Regions from separate parts of the Homo sapiens genome. Here all the other regions are linked to region 3. The links are contacts of gene promoters, found by promoter capture Hi-C in blood cells and fetal thymus (Javierre and others, 2016). All regions are on one chromosome and are shown on one strand. The core of a region is centred on a gene start or on the middle of the fragment in contact, and the rest is flanking DNA. Distances in the headings are between cores, read along the strand shown. Region 1 overlaps AHI1-DT (AHI1 divergent transcript). Region 2 overlaps AHI1-DT (AHI1 divergent transcript). Region 3 holds the start of PDE7B-AS1 (PDE7B antisense RNA 1).

Region 1 (2,700 bases), core at 70-2,569, 540 kb before region 3:
GCCCACTGGCTAAGGCCCTATTACAACCCAGACAACCTCTCCCATTCCGAACATAAAACTGTCATCTGTTGGATAATAACATTTCCCACATAACCAGTTCCTGGTGCCATGCTCCCACCTGGCTTGAGATGGTGACTGTCACCATTAATCTGGTTTGGATTCAGGTTTGGTATGTCCTGTTAGATGCTGAGACTTGGGGGAGCTTATAGTCATATACCTCAGACCTCCCCTATCCCCACCAGTCTTGGCTTACTTCTCTCTCTCCTACAGATCTACAGCTGGGGTTCTCTTCTGGCTCTCCTGCCAAGGCCAATCAGATCGCAATACAAAAAAGTAACACTTTCCAGCATTCTGTAGAGTCTGATTTTCTAAACAGTTCTTTAGATTTTAATGCATCTCAATAATAGTTATAAGTAACATTTTATTTTTTTCTGTGGCAGATTAGGCCTCCTGCAAAATAGTCATTTTCAAAAATTGTCTAAGATTCAGATGCCGCACCCAATGTTTATGCTTTTTGCAGCAATATGGTCCTAATTCAACATCATGCAGCGTGCAAATCAGTGTTTCTTCTAACTTCAACAGTGATAAATATTTATTAAGCCTCCACTATGTTCATGGAACTATACCAGGTGCTGCTATAACTATTTTTCCTTTCCAGGAAAAATAAATTCAAATATGGAATAAAAAGCCCAAACTCATGAAACTGGACTGACTTTGCTTCTTAAAAATTCAACATGCTGCAGCTGCATGCTTAAACCTGGTTCAAACAGGATGATGAAATAAAACATTATTATTGTGGGAATATAACACTGTCTAAATAAATAGCCAACATGAAAACTGTCTCTAAAACCCATAGCATCTGTATGTGCAGACTGTAAGTAAGTTATATAATTCCTCCACTATTCTGTAACATGGCCAATTCAGAATGTCTTACCATTAATCTTGAAGACATTTAAAGATGTTCACTTTTCTAACTCTTCCCTTTGAAAATATATTTGAACCTTATTTGCAATAAAAATCTCATAATATTGTATTACTTTTTGATGTGTCATTTCTGTTAAATGGTGCCTGGAATAAATCAGCTTTGACTTTTCAGATTACATGTGTTGTTCCAGAGTTTTAGTAGTTACAACATACATTTACATTTTCTAATGTCCTCACTATAATGAAGATAAACACAGGGGTAATTTTTCTCATGTCATGTGTATATAGGATAAGATTACCAGGCCAACAGTGTCACTATCAGATTTCTTTCAGAAAGTGTTTAATGTTGAATTTTAATCACATGCTTGAACAACTAGGACTTTTTGGGTTTTATTTTTCAAATATGTGTTAGTAAGAAAACAGACTGAAATGTGGAATGTACCAGATAAATCTCTTTGGTGATTTTACATATCTGTATGATCATGTTTGACTTAGAAATACCAATCTTTTGATCTTACACTTCAAATGTTACATCTGTGAACATAAAAATCTATATGGCTATAACTTTCCAGGAAGAAATCTTGCTCAAGTAACTAATAAATGATCCAAGTTTTAGATAATTCTGACATAATTCCAACATATTTCCTACAGTATTTTGCTTTAGAAGACTTTCTGACCCAGATATTTATGGCTAAAGTCCATATTTTATAGATCAAATGATAATTACCTTGTAGAGGAAAGCATTTGTTTTTGAATAGTGCCAGGAGCAAGTAAGTGTAACTAATATTACACGATAGATATTTCTGCAGATAAGTGAGCTTAACTCTCGTGGTTAAAACTTATGGTTAAATTTCCACAGATTAGTAAAAGTTCTCAGTTTTATTAACAATTCTCCATTTTCATTAAAAGCCCTACTTTCCTGATAGTTAGGCTGATGAGAAGTTAGTTCAGAGGGCTGCTCATTCCCATATTCATCACTTTTTATTCAGTAATGTTATTTTATGAATAATAATTTTCTTATTTGTTGAGGCGTATATCATGATGTTTAGATGTACATTACTATTTGTCCAATGCAACTAATTAGTTAAATAGGAATGAGTTGTAATGATCAGAGGTAATCCCAGAAAATATTTTTTCAAGTTTACAAACTTATAACTTTATAACTTTACAAGTTATAAAGAGACCTTCATAACAGTTAATTAAATCAAAGAATCCTTTAGTTGGACCATAAGCACTAACAGTCGGCATTCCGTGAATATTTGTTATATGTTTGGTATTTTGCTAAGCACTTCATTTTTTTTAAGTGTCATTTAATTTTCACATGAACCCTATGAAATATGTATCATTATTAGTCTTATTTAAATGTTGCTGAAGCTGATGCTTCAAGGAAAAGTATCATGCTTAAGGACGAACAGCTACCAGGTGGGGAACCGGGGACCTGAACTGGGTAATCTAACTTAACTTCTGCTTCAGTATCATTTTAGTTATATCTTTCTTGTACAAGTATGTCTCATCTTCCCTGTTAACTCTTCATTGATAGGAAAGACCATCTTTTTTTAATCTTTATGTTCCATTACTTGCCTTGGGCACAGTAGAGACCTATAAATGTTTGGTGCTCACATTTAATAAAAATGTAGTAATAATAGCACTATGATATATAGCAATAATTTTTTTTTTTTTACTTTTTAAGGGTTAAATAGGGTCAACGTGATTGACTCACTTGTTTTTGCTTATTGTACTTAAACGTCTAATATGTTAGATTAACTCTATTATTAA
Region 2 (2,700 bases), core at 136-2,635, 530 kb before region 3:
ATGCAGAATATGCACAGCTATCCTCGCTGGTGACCTTCTTGCTTTGTGGATGTCAAAGAAAGTAGACAGCTATATGGACTCTGCCACCTGGATAACTCTAGAGGTGAGTGGTAGGGGTTATGAACAGCACTGAGGAGCTGGGAGTGGCTGTTTGTTGGGTTTCTAGCTTCAGGACAAGTTCTATGAGTTTCCTGAGCCCTCATGATCTAAAACTATGAAGCATGATGGTGCTGGGGTGAATACTCATTGTGTTGCTTGCTCGGTACTCACTATCCTAACTTTGTTCTGAAGGACCCATTTCTCCCTCACTCTGTGTGTTTCAAGTAAAATATGTACTGAAGAAAATGCCACCTATTTTTATAAATACTGTGAACTAAGAATGATTTTTATATTTTTAAGTGGCTTCAACAAAAATCAAAATAATAATATCTAAATTTCAGTGCCCATAAAGTTTTATTGTAACTTAGCCATGCTAATCCATTTATGCATGGCTGCTTTTGCTCTACAATGGTGGAGGTCAGTAGTTGTGACAGAGACCATGTGGCCTGCAAAGCCATAAATATTTACTATCTGGTCCTCTATGGCAAAAGTTTGCCAGCCTCCACCTCAGACTGTCGCTGTGGTTAGAGTCCTATGATCACAGTGGGTGGTTCAGCACAAGACCCAGGTTTAAACGTCTGGTCTTTTCTTTGAACTACTTGGGAAGCTAGCTCTAGCTAGCTAGCTAGCTAGCTAGCTCTTCTGCTGCCTCAGGTGAGAAACTGAGGATGTCAGGAAGCATCAGGCAGCCCCTAAGGATGAGGTCGTAATCAAGCTTGATTGAAACCATTCCAACTCTAGAATTTTCAGCTGTGCCAATCAATACATTTTCTTTAATCTTAAATTAGCTAGCATTTTAAGATCTTTGTTGCTTACAGCCAAAGAAACTTAACTGATAAAGTCATTTGGAAGAAATCCTACTCCAGGTATACAGGGAACAGAATTAATGAGTTCCCAAGATGATTGCCTTATGGTGGCAACAGCAGTTGCCTGGCAGAAGATAGGAAATCTGTCTTAATAGTGCCTTCTAGGACCCAAATTTGTCCTGCTCTGGTAGAAATCCTAGAAGATCAGGAATACAGGAGATGCAATTAGTGTTTAGGATCTTCATTTAACAGCACACATCTGTGTCTTCCCTTGGCATAAATACTGGGAGAATGCAGTACTCAGGATTTTTATATCCTCTTATTGGAATTACCCACATAATATATGATTTATTGCCTATAGACTTCTCAATTTCTATGTACACAATAGCAGCACTACCATATTTTTTAATTCAAATGAAATGCATGAAGATGTTTGGGTAGAAGTAATAGAAAAGTTTAGTAATGAATAATGTTTCATTATTCTGTCTATTTTCTGAACATCAGTCATTATCAAATATAGACTCATAATCAAATAATAATACATACACCTACAATATTTTGATTATGATGTTTTTAGAAACATACATCTCTTTTCCCTCCTACTGATTAATCTCCTTGCTGTTTAAGCAGCAAAGCTGCTTTCCACTCAGTATCTCAGGGAAAGGATATGACATGGTAGACAACAGAAAACAAATGAAACAACTCCCCCACACTCCCCAAATTCAGGAAACTTCCTGGCAAAAAGCTCACTCCTTTAGGACAATAGAGAGTCTCTGGGTAGAGCCAAATTATATAAGAGAAACATCAAGGGTGACTGTTGCTTTCGCCTTCTGGAGAGGAAAAGATTCCCAGGGGTTTATATAGAAAAGGAAGGGGAAAAGAGGGAACAGGGAGGATGTGGTGGCAGTGCGTTTGGATGGGTTTCAAAGAGGGAGCCCCAGTTCCATCAAGGACCTTGGAGCCCCTGGAGGCTTCTCCCTCGGGTTCTGTGGGGCCAAGGAGAGGCGTCCCCTCAATCCCACCTGGATTCCCTGCTGGATCAGCCCTAGAAGGAAGCTTCCTGGGGCTGCTCCCACTTCTGCTTAAGTGTGGCTACACCGTGGAGGGTGGGTCCTTAGGAATGTGGCAAGGGCAGCAAGATTGAGGGGGCCATAGTGGTGCGGGCATGTGGAGGGGGCACAGGCTTTGGCCCGCGGGCCTGTGTTCCTATCCCTCCCTCTGTCGTTCCCTGTGACCAATGGGCGGAGGGCCCATTCTTGGCAGAAACCCAGGGAAGTGGCAAAATTCCCAGACAGTGTTGTGAGAGCAGTAGAATGTTCACAACCTCCTACCCTTGCCCTAGCATCAGGGTTTGACAGAAAAATTAGATTGAATGAAATAAAAATATTTCTCACCCACTTGCGTTCATGGATGGAGATTGATGACCTTCTAGGTCAGACACATTTGTTTCCATTAGTGTGGAAAATCAAGAGTTGACTTCACTCCTCAGTTCTTCCAAGGGTGACAGTTAAATTTTGGCTGCACACCAGCAGCCAATGGCATGCAAGTGTTAGAGCAGGTTATCTGCATTTCATGTGCTGGATTTTGCTTCACTGCAATGCACTATTGTTCATTTTGAAGAACTGCTTTTTCTTCATTTGATTATGAAGTCCATTCTTCACTGAGAAAGGGTGAATCACTGGGTTTCATTATGGAGCTCTTGAAGTTCAGGGAGAGCGATTTTCATACTAAGTTCATTTTCTTTAACATATAACCAGTGAAATAATAGAACAAAAATACATTTATCTTTTATAAT
Region 3 (2,700 bases), core at 139-2,638:
GGACAAGAGGAAAAGTAAACTGGAAACACACACACACGTGTGTATACATAAGTTTAATTCTGAAGTATTGAGAATTTTATTTTCAAAGTGCTAGAAAGGCAACAGAGAGATAGTTCATTTCACCATTACAGAAACACCAAGAAATTATAAACTTCTCTGGATGTCAGTTTTCTTACTGGAAAAATTATGTTAAAATTATATCACTCTAGCCAAGTGTAGTGGTGCATGCCTGTAGTCCCAGCTACTAGGGAGGCTAAGGTGGGAGGATCGCTTGAGGCCAAAAGTTCGAGGCTTCACTGAGCTATGATCACACCACTGCACTCCAGCCTGGGCAACTGAGCAAGATTCCACTCAATAAATTAATAAATGAGTGCAGCATTCTAATGTTTTAAGGATTAAATGACATGATCATATAACAATGCCTAACAAGGTACACAGTGCAGTAACAAGTAAATGTATTTTAGCTTTTTTCCTTGGTTTCCATTAACATTTTTTTCCTTCAGTTAGTCATTCTAAAAATATTTATTAAGCATCTATTATGTTTTAAGAATTAAATGAGGTGACCCTACAACAGTGCCTTAAAAGGTACACAGCACAAAAACTAAATATATTTTAGCTTCTTCCCTCAGTCCCCTTTAACATTTTTTTCATTCAGTCAGTCATTCTACAAATATTTATTGAGCATTTATTATGTAGCAGGCATCATAATTTGTCTTGAATATATAATGGCAAATACAATAAACACAGTTCCTGCCCTTAATGGGGAAAACAGAAAATAAATAGGCGGGGAGGCGAGGAGAGAGAAAGACAAATCGAAATTGTCCTAAGTTCTGTGAAGGACCTAAACAGGGTACAGGGAGAGGAAATGGTGGGAGAGGGGCACCTGGTTAGATAGCTCATGGCATAGCTGATACTTTAATTTTGTTTTTTAAGTAGAGATGAGTTCTTGCTGTGTTGCCCAGGCTGCTCTTGAACTCCTGGGCTCAAGCGATCCTCCTGCCCTGGCCTACTAAAGTGCTGGGATTCTGGGTGTAAGCCACCTTGCCCAGCCCTGTTTATTTTTCTATTGATCTTAAGAAAGAAAAAGATGTCTTCTAATAACTATTTTACCTTAATCAGTTTTAAGACAAGCTTTGCAGAGCTCCATGACCCTCTGAAGAGACCGTGGCCACCTTGTAGGTTAGAGTATTTCGGACAGATGGCTGTACTACTGAGAGCTTTTCTGGACATGGCCGTTCTGGCTAACTTTCATCTTGTCATTACATTTCCTTTTCTGAGAAAGGTTGCAAGGGTGGTTTTGACAGAGTGATGCTGTTGGTATTTAGAATCCTGACTTTCTTGATCCTTTTCGGTGGAGCTGCGGGACACATGTGCGATGGAAACTGGCCTGGTTGCCATGGTGGATAGTGTTCTGACAACAGTCACATGGGTCAGGTGTCCGTTTTGGATCTTTCAGGCCTGTCAGCAGCTCCTGATAAAGCTAGCCATGTGGTTTTTCTTGGCTCACCTGTATATCCTGGTAGGAACAGCTAAGAGCCACTCAACGCACCCTTCTCTTTTTGGAGAAACCCCAGGGAGTTGTGTTGCTTGGGGCTGGGCCGCTTGGAGACCATGTTCTTTGTCTTTTTGGCCTGCTCTCGGGGCTAAGGAGCATTGATGGAATATCTGAGATGGTGGCGTCGGCAGGGATGGCCATGCTGAAGTCTGTTCATATCACACAACTAGGGCCACAAGCAAAGTCCTCCATCTGAATGACATTCAGGGACAGTCCATAAACTCAACGTGTGCACAGAGTGCCTCCGTACGCCATGCATTGTGACAGGTCCTGGGGTAACAGATCTGAAAGACTCCTTCTTTGTGTGTAAAGAACATGATTGGGTTAATTAAGTAAAAGTGAATATTTTCTTTACTGAGTCATAAAATTACGGGCATATGTCTTAATCAGCTAAGGCTGTCATAACACAGCACCATAAACTCAATGGCTTAAACAACAGAAACTGATTTTCTCACAGTCTTACAGGCTGAAAGTCCAGGATCAAGGCATCTGTGGAGTTGGTTTCTTCTGAGGCCTCTCCCCTCGGCTTGTAGATGTCACTTCTATGGTCTTCCCTCTGGGCCTGTGTCCTAATTTTCTCTTCATACAAGTGCACTAGTCATAATGGATTAGGGCCTACTCCAGTGGCCTCATCTAACTTAACTGCCTTTTAAAAGACCCCATCTCCATATAGGTCACATTCTGAGGTGCTTGGGTTAGGATTTTAACATACGAATTTGGCAGGGGACACACTCTAGCCCATAACAGCATTTTTACAGCCACACATAGTAAAAATCTGGAAATACACCACCACATGTATCAGAGTATAAGTGGCAAAGGTTGATCATGATACGTATCTCTCAGTTGAGAATTTCAGCGTGATTTCTAAAAACTTGTTGTGAAAGTACAATGCGCAGAAAACTGAAATTTCACCAAAAGTCCCATATCTGAAGCAAATAAAAAAATTTAGTTCCCATATTCTTTCCAATAGAAATAATTCCTTCGTGGAGAATTTATGCCTATCTCGTTCCTATGACAAAAAGGAATTTGGCCAGCCTGGCCAACATGGTGAAACCCTGTCTGTACTAAAAATACAAAAAAATGAACTGGGCACGGTGGCACACACCTGTAATCCCAGCTACTTGGGTAAAAGAATTACCTGAGGT

The links. Contacts are between HindIII fragments. The CHiCAGO score rates a contact against its expected background, and 5 or more counts as called.
Region 1: a contact is called between a fragment that was not itself captured here and the fragment with the promoter of PDE7B-AS1 in region 3, in 1 of 17 cell types (total CD4 T cells). The highest score is 5.8, in total CD4 T cells.
Region 2: a fragment that was not itself captured here is called in contact with the fragment with the promoter of PDE7B-AS1 in region 3 in 1 of 17 cell types (endothelial precursors); the score reaches 6.1 in endothelial precursors.

What each region holds. Positions count from the first base shown.
Region 1 is chr6:135,527,319-135,530,018 of GRCh38, forward strand. The region is part of intron 2 of AHI1-DT (AHI1 divergent transcript); the gene reads left to right. Among named protein-coding and RNA genes, the nearest start is that of AHI1-DT, 31 kb to the left of the region's middle. The HindIII fragment of the contact is 3,531 bases long and covers 1-2,700 here.
Region 2 is chr6:135,544,771-135,547,470 of GRCh38, forward strand. All of the region lies in intron 2 of AHI1-DT (AHI1 divergent transcript), which reads left to right. Among named protein-coding and RNA genes, the nearest start is that of AHI1-DT, 48 kb to the left of the region's middle. The HindIII fragment of the contact is 1,147 bases long and covers 813-1,959 here.
Region 3 is chr6:136,071,439-136,074,138 of GRCh38, forward strand. It overlaps PDE7B-AS1 (PDE7B antisense RNA 1), which reads right to left and starts at 1,389. Exons shown (of 4, transcript NR_149042.1): 1 at 1,111-1,389. The region is part of intron 2 of PDE7B (phosphodiesterase 7B); the gene reads left to right. The HindIII fragment of the contact is 8,353 bases long and covers 1,130-2,700 here.